Regions from separate parts of the Homo sapiens genome. Here regions 1 and 3 are each linked to region 2. The links are contacts of gene promoters, found by promoter capture Hi-C in human tissues and cell types (Jung and others, 2019). All regions are on one chromosome and are shown on one strand. The core of a region is centred on a gene start or on the middle of the fragment in contact, and the rest is flanking DNA. Distances in the headings are between cores, read along the strand shown.

Region 1 (3,031 bases), core at 101-2,600, 110 kb before region 2:
AAACATACCTTACTTTTCGTATACTTTGTATACTGAAATATATATATGTAAGAACTTTAACTCTTAGTAACTGTAATTTTTAGTGAAAACCTTGGAATCAGTATTTTATAGATGAGAACCATTTTATAATTTTTGGAAACATGTTTTCCCGTTACATAATTACTTTGTGTATTAACAGGCAAAAATATATTTAGTCCTTCTCTAAAATTTAATAAGCCAAGAACAAACTTACATTTGTGTTCAGCAATGTATGTTTTAGTACTTTATCTTATATGGAAATGACTTAGACATTTTATGAGTATCATTTAATTTAACATAGCATAACTTTAAGATTTCAGATTACATGACAGTCTATAAGCACTTTCCCATCTACGTTTATGTACTTTATTTATTTTTAATAATTATACCTAGGTTACTTATGAAAACTGAGATATAGAAAAAGCTAGTCTTCATTTCAAGTTATTTCCCTTTTCACCATTTGTATAGCCTATGAGTATCAGGTTTTCACCTGAGAAACTTAAATATAGGGGTATTTTGCTGATAACACAGAAGATACAGCAATTTTGATTAAACTAACAGTGTTAGTCTTAGTCATTAAAAAGTTATACAAATAAAGATAATTGTGTCTTTAGTCTGGATTTATACTTTTATAACCTTAAGACATCTAGTAGAGATAAATATAATCCTCTCTGACCAGTAAAGCTGGGCAAAAATGTATGCTGACAGTTTTGAAGACACTTCTATTTTTATTTTATCAACAAATTTAAAACCAACTTATTTATCCAAGATTTACTTAAGTCAGCTGGGTGTGGTGGCTCATGCCTATAATCCCAGCACTTTGGGAGGCTGAGGCAAGAGGATTGCTTGAGCCCAGGAGTTTGAGACCAGCCTGGGCAACATGGCAAGATCCCATCTCTACAAAAAATAAAAAAATTAGGCAGGTATGATGGTACACACCTGTAGTCCCAGCTACTCAAGAGGCTGAGGTGGAAGGATCACTGGAGCCCAGGAGGTTGAAGCCACAGTGAGCCATGTTTGTCCCACTGCACCCCAGCCTGGGTGACAGAGAAATAACCTATCTCAAAAAAACAAAAAACAAAAAAAACAAAAAAGATTTATTTAAGTCACACGAACTAAAAAGCATTTGGGTTAATTACTATATATTTTACATGAGTGCTTGTTTAAGCCAATCCAAATAGAATTTCTTAAGGGATTTCTGGCTAACTATGTCAGATTTTATCATGTAGATGTAACATACAATATGTATAAACATACATAAAAGCAAATACAGACACAAATAAAGATCTTATGGCTTTCATTTTAGAATTTTGGTCATGAAACAGAAAAACATAGTAATACAAATTCACTGGTTTATAAAATATAGTTGGATCAAATTATATTTTTGACAAAACGGAACTTTTATCTGTGGCTAAGTTCTGTTTACCCTGATAAGTAATTAATGAAGGCTGTGGACCAGAATTATGGATAAAGCAGTTTTCATAGCAGTTTGACTTTTAAAAACCTTTTAATCCTTTTTTCAGATTCAATTGAATTTAGGGTTGAATATTCAAATGTTTACATTTTAGCTAGGCCTGGCTAAATTGTATTAAAAAAAAACAACAAAATTTTCAGGTTGCCTTGAATTAGTAACAAATCTTTTTGTTTGTTTGCTTTTTCTGGCTCTTAAGTGTCAGACAAAATAATTTTTATGTCAGACAGAGATACCTTTTAGTATTGCTCTGAGCTTAAGGTTTTAACCTGTTTGATCTGACAGCCCTTAGCTTATATAAACATTTATAAAGTTTTTTTTTTAGAATATCGATTTTTCAATTAGCTTTTTCATCACCCTAAGCAATTGTTAGACAAACCTAAATTTACATTTCCAAAAGGTGTCTGCATCGTTGGTTGCCATAGATTTGGCATAATTTATAAAGCCATTAGTTTGAAAGCCCTTTAACACTTAAAAGAAAATCTTAGTTTCCATAAGCAATGAGTTTATCTTAATGCTGGCAGAAAAGTCATCAGATTCAAAGTTGGCAGAAAAAAGAGATGGAGAGTTAACCCTGTAGTTAGTTGCAGTTTTTGACAAGCTTAGACAGAAAATGGCTGTCCAGTGCTGCGTTTTTCCTGATGTAGTTTGCCCATCACCACACGAGAACGGACCACAGTATAGCTGGCCAGAGTCCTAGAAGACTTGGTGTGCCTCAATGTTTAAGAATCCCATTTCATTTCTTATTAATCTCTCAAGAGCAAAGAAAATCCTATAATTCCTGTCAGGGAGTTTAGACTGGTGCCTTATGTGGTGCTGACTGCCCTTGTTAATTGGCCATCCCATACCCATTATTTAGAATCTTTATTTTTGCTCTCAGATCATGGCCAGAATCAAGCAAGGGAAAAAAGAGCCAAATCATATACAGATGTGTGTAAGCAAATCAAAATAAAACAAAAAATAAGTGTGTTCACAGAAATTTTAAGCCAGGCATGCAGTCCAAACAAAACATTAAACCGGGTGTGCAGAACCAGACAGAATATAAATTCTGTAGTAACCAGAGGGACATTGTCCTTATACCAGAAGGGGCTTGCCAGAAGAGACAAAAGGTCTTTTATCATCCGAGACAGATGCAAGGTCCTTTATTAAGGTCCTTTATTAACTCAGATCCCAAATGAAGTAAAAAAGAGCTTCTAACAAAAAATGGGAGGCTTGGTTTGAGAGGAGACTTTCAAGGGCAGAAGAGGCGAGTCATGGAAGCAGAGAGCTCAAAGGGCTCAGTTGAGTGCCTCATACCAGTTCTAAGAATTGATGATTCTTTCCACAGGTGATCCTTCTCCACATCCCACTTCTGACACCATTTATGTCATCCTAAATAACAAATAGGGAGGGAGACTCTCCAAAAGAAAATGGTATTTATTCAGGAATAGGCATTGCGATGGGATACACATTATGGTAAACTATGTGCATATTCAGGGAAGTAGTGGAAGATAAAGGTTTCTAATGGAAAAATGAATATGATTACATAATCGTTTTGAGATA
Region 2 (3,246 bases), core at 387-2,886:
GCCCGGGCCAGCACTCAGGAATGCAGCAGGGCCCTGCCTCTCCCTGTAGGGATAAGCAAGTGCCAGGCGCCCAGGGCAGCGGATGTGTCTGTGGCTACAGCCCCAACGGCCCCCGCCTCCGCACCGGCTGTCCTGGGCCAGCCCCTTGGGGGCCTGGGATGTGTGGGGAGCATGAATGGGGCTCTGTGACCCAGCAACTGTTCTGCGGAAGGCGGCTGGTGGCTGCACAGGTGACTGCGGGGGTGGGTGGGGGATGCAAAATTCTGCTTCCTGGGCCTGGTGTCCCCCGCCTTGCATGAGGCCCTGACAAGACATCACCGAAGCACCAAAGCCAACCCTTGTGGCCCACCGGAGACCTGTCTCTTGGATCACAGGGGCAGTGGGGAGGGGCGCCCAGGGCTCCCGATGCCTCTGAGCCCTGCTCTGAGGTCAGCCGATGTGGCTCAGTCCTGGCTGTGAGGCCTCACGCTGCCCTGATTCCATTTGCTCCTCAGTGCGAGGCAGACAGAGCCCAGCCTAGGGTCTGGATGGGATGAAATGAAGACGTCTCCTCCCTAACGGGACACTGTCTACCCCTTCCTTCTTCTCCCCCGAGAACCGTCAGCCCCGTGAGGATGGGGTCTAGGGTAGGGCATGTGGACGGAGCTTTGCTGTTTGTCCAGGTGCTTATCTTCTAGGGTGCCATCGCCCCTCCCCACTGCTGTTCCCGTATCTGCTGGGTGTCCCCAACCCCAGGGTGGTGGAGGCCGTCTCTCGGATGGGGCTGACACCCAAGGCACGGACCTGCCAGGTCCCCCAAAGCACATGGCCTCTCTGCAGAAGAACCTGGATGTGACATCTAATGCCCAGGCCAGAGCTTGGGGACAGCTGGACTGGAGCCACAGGGTCAAGGAGGGGGAGTCCAGAAGCGCAAAGTCCACCCAGCTGGGAGGGCTGCTGGCAGGTCCTTTACAAAGCAGGCAGCTCCTCTGCCCATCGGAGCCGGCTGGCCTAACCAGGGCCTGCTCTTGCCTGGGATGGGGGCAGAAGAGGTGGAGACCTGGGGCCCTGAGGCGGCACTGTGGGTCCTGGACCCGCCCACCTGCACTGGGGTCCCTGCAGGCTTTTAATGGGAACAGAAATGGAGGAAGAGACAGAGGCTGCCAGGGGCTCCCCGACCCCTACTGCCTGCCTGGGGAGGGGTCACCTCAGTGTGGGGGAAGCCTGGGGATGTGAGAGCATCCTAGGCCTGGGCTGCCTGTGGCCAGTCTGTTGTCCGGGTGTCTAGTGACCCCTGGGGTAGGGGCAGATGCCAGTCTGGGAAGCCGGATTGTTTGAAGACCAACTTTAAAGTTGGGAGCAGTGCCCAGAGCGGGGCCGATGTCTGCTAGGTGGTTGTCTCTGCTTTTTGAAAAAGAAGTCCCCGCCCGACCCCCGCCCCGCCAGGCGCTGGTCTGAGCGTCTGAGCCCAGATGGTGCGCTTGCTCCAGAGGGCGGGCGGCTCCAGTGGCCGCCGCGGGACGGTGGGGCCAGAGGGGCCCGTGGGGGTGGGGGAGCCGCCCGCAGGAGAAGGAGCCCCGCCCGCGCCGGCCCTGGAGTCGCCGGTGTCGCCGCCCTGCCCGCGGGCCCGCCCTCCTGGCCCAGCCCAGGGCCCTGCGAGCTATTTTGAAAGTGACCCTGGGCTGGGGCGCCGGGGCGAGCGCGGCGGCGCGGAACCATGACAGAAGATGACCGAGGCGGCGCTGGTGGAGGGCCAGGTCAAGCTGCGGGACGGCAAGAAGGTCGGGGCGCGTCGGGGGCGCGGGGGGGGGGGGCGCGGGCGCGGGCGGCGGCTCACGCTCCCCCCTGTCCCCGCAGTGGAAGAGTAGGTGGCTGGTGCTGCGGAAGCCGTCGCCCGTGGCAGGTGAGCGGGGCGGGCGGGGGACGGGGGGCGCGGGGGTAGCGACACGGGTTACCGAGGCCCGGGGCAGTAATGCCAGCTTGCCCAAAATCGCCGCCGCTGTCACCCCGCCGGGAAACCCGAGAGCCCCGTGCGGACCCGGACCCCCCGGCGCCCCTGGGAGCGCAGGTGGGGGCCCTGGACGGAAGAACCCTCTTTCCAGCAGGGCAGACTGAGGCCCGAGGGGCTGCCTGGTGGCCCTGTAGGCGGAGGGGACGCAGGCCCTGAGCCCCCCAGCAGAGCAGCAAGGGGCCCCCCAGAAGCAAAGCCCCACATACCTGAGGGTTGAGCTGTGCTTGTGGAAACGCTCAGAGCAGGGCCCCCGAACCCAGCCTCCAGGGGTGCTGCGTGGGTTAGCGCTGACCCTGGACCCCTCCCAGGCAGACGAGAGGCTGGGCTGCGGTAGGGCAGGGCAGAGTGACTGCCACATTGCTGGGGGAACAGTCCTCTGGGAGGAGGCAGGGGTCCCCCCCCAGTCCCCGCCCTGAGCCAGCACCCCAGCTTGGGGAGGGTCAGCATGGAGCCCCCAGGTCTGGCAGCCCAGGCCGCCTGCAGCGCTGGGCCTGTAGGGAGGGCTGAGCCGGGCCTGCAGCTGCTCCAGAGGACAGGTGCGGCAGAGCCGGCCAGGCCCGGGTCTGGGTGGGATGCTCGGCCTGTGTGCATGGGGGGCTGTACGCCAGGGGGCTGCCAGAGCACCCTCCAGGACGGGTGTCTGTGACTCCCAGGGAGGGTGTGGGGCAGGGATCCCTCCTGCGTCCCCTCTGCAGGGCCTCAGGTGGTCCTGGAGGAAAGCACTTCCTGCCTGCCTCCGCCTCCCCTTGCAGGGCCTGGACTGCACGCTGGTCACTTCTCCACTCAGCCCTCCGTGCCCAGACCTCCTGCCTGGAGCTGTGGGGGCACCGACAGAGCCTGGGAGGGCGTCTTTGTCCTCCGGGGCTGCAGGGGACCTGGTATAGGAAGGGATGGGGTCTGGGCAGAGTGAGAGGCCCTGCCAGGCTGGGGCGGATGACAGGCTTTAGTCAGCTGTGGCTGGGTCGGGGCCGTGGTGGGGCAGGTGATGCTTGGTGGATGGTGCTGGGCTGGAGCCGGTGCAGACCCTCCAGAGAGGCCGCATCCCAGGAAGGCACCCGGGACAGCAGCCCCCAAAGAGGAGTGTCGGGGGAGAAGTCTTTGTCCCTGTTGGAGGGATTTTCTTTCTGCATCAGACAGTCCCAGGAGGCAGGGCCTGCCAGCCTCAAGAGGGTGTGCTCCCCCGGCCGGTGAGTGCCTGAGTGGAGTGACAGGAGTTTGCAATGGGTCCCCCAGGTGGGACAATCTGTGAGTCTGTA
Region 3 (2,976 bases), core at 462-2,961, 94 kb before region 2:
AGGAAGCATGTCCTGTTGTCCAGCTGGGCGGTGATATGCAGGCCTGAGTCCCCGCTGCACCACAGCTGCCTCCAGGCTCACATGCCCACTTGCCGAGCTCACCACACGGGGGCTTCGCCTTCTCTGGGATCCGCGGTGGGCCTGCGTTGGAGGGCTGAGAACGGCTCGCCCTTTCCGAGCTAGCACTCTGCCCACTTTCTCTTCACGCCCCGTCCTGGTGAGGCGGTGCCTGTGCAGCGCATGATCGGGTGCTCCCGCCTTGCGGTGCTTTCTTCCTGTGCCCAGACTGGCCATGCATGTGTTGGTGAAGGGCTGTGCTGGGCTTCCCGGGCCCGGGGTCTGAACCCGACTCCCACCAGGCACTGAGTAAACACATCCATCCAAACAAGGGAGGTGGAGCACGAAGCAGGGGCAATGGGCTGGGGCCCAGAATCTTCTGGGGATGTGGCTGTCAGCAGCTCCTGGACCTCTGACCATGTGGCAGGGGGCTCATCCCCGTCTCCCCAGGGCACTTGCTGCTGGGGCCCTCAGGCGGTCACAGGAGTTCTCCCAGGCGTGTTCTGGCCCTGCCCCATCCCTTTCCTCACCCATCTGCAGAGGGGAGTTACTGGCTAGGCAGGGGAGGTCAGCAGCTGCAGAAAAGGACAGGCTCCCACAAAAGAGGAGATGGGGGGAGCCTAGAGAGAGACAGGAGAACCCGGAGGCCCTGTTGTTGGAGGCCCTGTTGTTAGTGACCGGACAGCAACAGGCGGACCCCTAGCAGCCTGGGCTGCTTTGTGGGCTTTGCGAATAAACCACGTAGACAATGTGAAATTGTGTTTCTTCCTTTCCGTCCTCGATGGAACACAATGGGATGAAGATGTTTCTGTCTGAAAGAACTGAGGTGAAATCAGTTTAGCACTTAGGTGATAACCCCTCAGCAGAAGGCCCCACGCATGCCCAGGCTGCCTTCGGTTCTCAGGCGCTGGTGGCTGTTCCCAGGGTCTGGGGGCCCTGGGGGGCCAGGATGCTGTTGTCCTCTGCTCCCGCCTGGAGACCACTGTCTCCTCCAAAGCTCTGTAAACTGTCAGTAGTGCAGGCCCCTCAGAAGCCAATGAGGTTAACGGGCAGGTCAGCGTCAGGGGCTCACCCAGCCACCCCAGAACCCCTTGCTGTTGTTCCAGAACCTTCAGATTGCTTTCTCTGAAAGTGTGCCTGTGTGTGTGCCTGTGTGTGTGTGCACCTGTGTGTGTGCGTGCCTGTGTGTGGGTGCCTGTGTGTGTGGGGTGCCTGTGTGTGTGTGAGTGCCTGTGTGTGTGTGGGTGCCTGTGTGTGTGTGGGGTGCCTTTGTGTGTGGGGGTGCCTGTGTGTGAGGTGCCTGTGTGTGTGTGGGTGCCTGTGTGTGTGTGGGGTACGTGTGTGTGTGGGGTACGTGTGTGGGGTGCATGTGTGTGTGTGTGGGGTGCCTGTGTGTGTGCCTGTGTGTGTGTGGGTACCTGTGTGTGGGGGGGTACATGTGTGTGTGTGGTACGTGTGTGGGGTGCATGTGTGTGTAGGGGGGGTGCCTGTGTGTGTGGGGGTGCCTGTGTGTGTTGGGGGTGCCTGTGTGTGTTGGGGGGTGCCTGTGTGTGTTGGGGGGTGCCTGTGTGTGTGTGGTGGGGTGGATGCTGACGGGAAGGCAGGGGACGAGGATGCTGGTTTTGTCTGAGAGATGTGGCTTAGCCCAGGAATGGTGATGTGGTCTGGTCTATACGTGCTCCGCCTTCTGTCATACTGCCTGCCATGCCTGTCGTACCTAATGTAGACCCTCTGGCCCAGAGCCCAGGGGAAGTGGGTGGGGCCATGGTAGGTAGAGGCGGGGCCCTGTCGAGGAACAGGGCTTCTGAGGCCACTCCAGACCTATGGGGCTGACCGGGGGTCCCGGTAGCTTGGGCGGGAGCCCCTTCCTGGGCTGGTGACAGAAGTGGAGGTGGCACCCCTTTCAGCGAGGAGCAGCTGTGCAGAGGGAGGTGTGGCTGCCTTGGGGTGATTCCTCTGCTTGCTGGGGGTGTGGCTGGGCGCCTGCCCCCCGCCCCTGCAGACTCCCCCACACTTTTGTTACGTGCACAGCTCCTGAGAAAAGCCTTCTAAGGAAGCTTGAGCTGCTGCGCATTCTGCAAGCAGCCATTGTGCATTTCTGAAACGAAGTGTGTGTCCAGTGCTGTGGGTTCTGCTCACTGAACACTCTCGTGCGGGGAATGCTCATGTTCCTCCACAGAAAGGCAGAAGCAGAGCTGGCACAGTTCCTTCCCAGCTGGCAGCCCAACCCCAGACCCCAGAGCCATGGACCTAGCCTGGTGGCCCTGTGGGCATTGAGTTTGCAGTTCCTGGCAAGAAGCTTCCCCAGGTCTAATGGCGAAGCTTCCCTCAACCTAACGTTTCAGGGTTAGGACTCCTAGAGCCCATTAGGACGAGACTCTAGGTGGCCCATGCTGCATGATTTTGACAGCAGGGAAGCACTTTGGGATGAGCAGTTTACCCCTAAATCTCTAGAAAATTAACAGATGATTTTGCAGTGATCCCTAGGCTTTACAAATAGTTTTCTTTTTCTTTCCTCCTTCCTTTTTAGAGCCAGGATCCATCATGGTTCACTCGCTTTCTGGTTGTTTCATATATTTGGAGGGTGGGCAGAGCAGATCACGGAATACAGATAGCACTGAGAGGGCTTTAGGCGTGTGCCAGATCCCGCTGGCTGCCACCCAGTAAGCTGGTGCATGTGGAGGCTTAGAATAGATTCATTGGCAGCTGTAATTAAGGTTGTGAACTGCACCACGATGCTAAAAAAAACAAATTCTCTGCAGCTGTTTTACTGACTGAGAAATTACCCCTGTCGGCCGAAGTTTTATTCTTCTGATTTGGTAGAGGAAATAGTTTAAAAATGATCTCACAGCGTGATTTATGTAAACGGCGCTTCTTTCTTTGGATGAGACAATTGAGATAGAGTCTGAAACCCTGGCA

The links. The method cuts DNA at HindIII sites, captures the fragments that hold promoters and counts their contacts. A contact is called where the count stands out against the background at its distance.
Region 1: a fragment that was not itself captured here is called in contact with the fragment with the promoter of DOK7 in region 2 in 4 of the 25 tissues and cell types used here (bladder, dorsolateral prefrontal cortex, lymphoblastoid cells and 1 more).
Region 3: a contact is called between a fragment that was not itself captured here and the fragment with the promoter of DOK7 in region 2, in 2 of the 25 tissues and cell types used here (lymphoblastoid cells and thymus).

What each region holds. Positions count from the first base shown.
Region 1 is chr4:3,349,600-3,352,630 of GRCh38, forward strand. The region is part of intron 3 of RGS12 (regulator of G protein signaling 12); the gene reads left to right. Among named protein-coding and RNA genes, the nearest start is that of RGS12, 58 kb to the left of the region's middle. The HindIII fragment of the contact is 4,811 bases long and covers 1-3,031 here.
Region 2 is chr4:3,461,670-3,464,915 of GRCh38, forward strand. DOK7 (docking protein 7) reads left to right here and starts at 1,637. Exons shown (of 7, transcript NM_173660.5): 1 at 1,637-1,760; 2 at 1,837-1,882. The coding sequence starts at 1,707. RefSeq lists an enhancer at 415-1,262. The HindIII fragment of the contact is 11,592 bases long and covers 1-3,246 here.
Region 3 is chr4:3,367,135-3,370,110 of GRCh38, forward strand. All of the region lies in intron 3 of RGS12 (regulator of G protein signaling 12), which reads left to right. Among named protein-coding and RNA genes, the nearest start is that of HGFAC, 73 kb to the right of the region's middle. The HindIII fragment of the contact is 3,568 bases long and covers 1-2,976 here.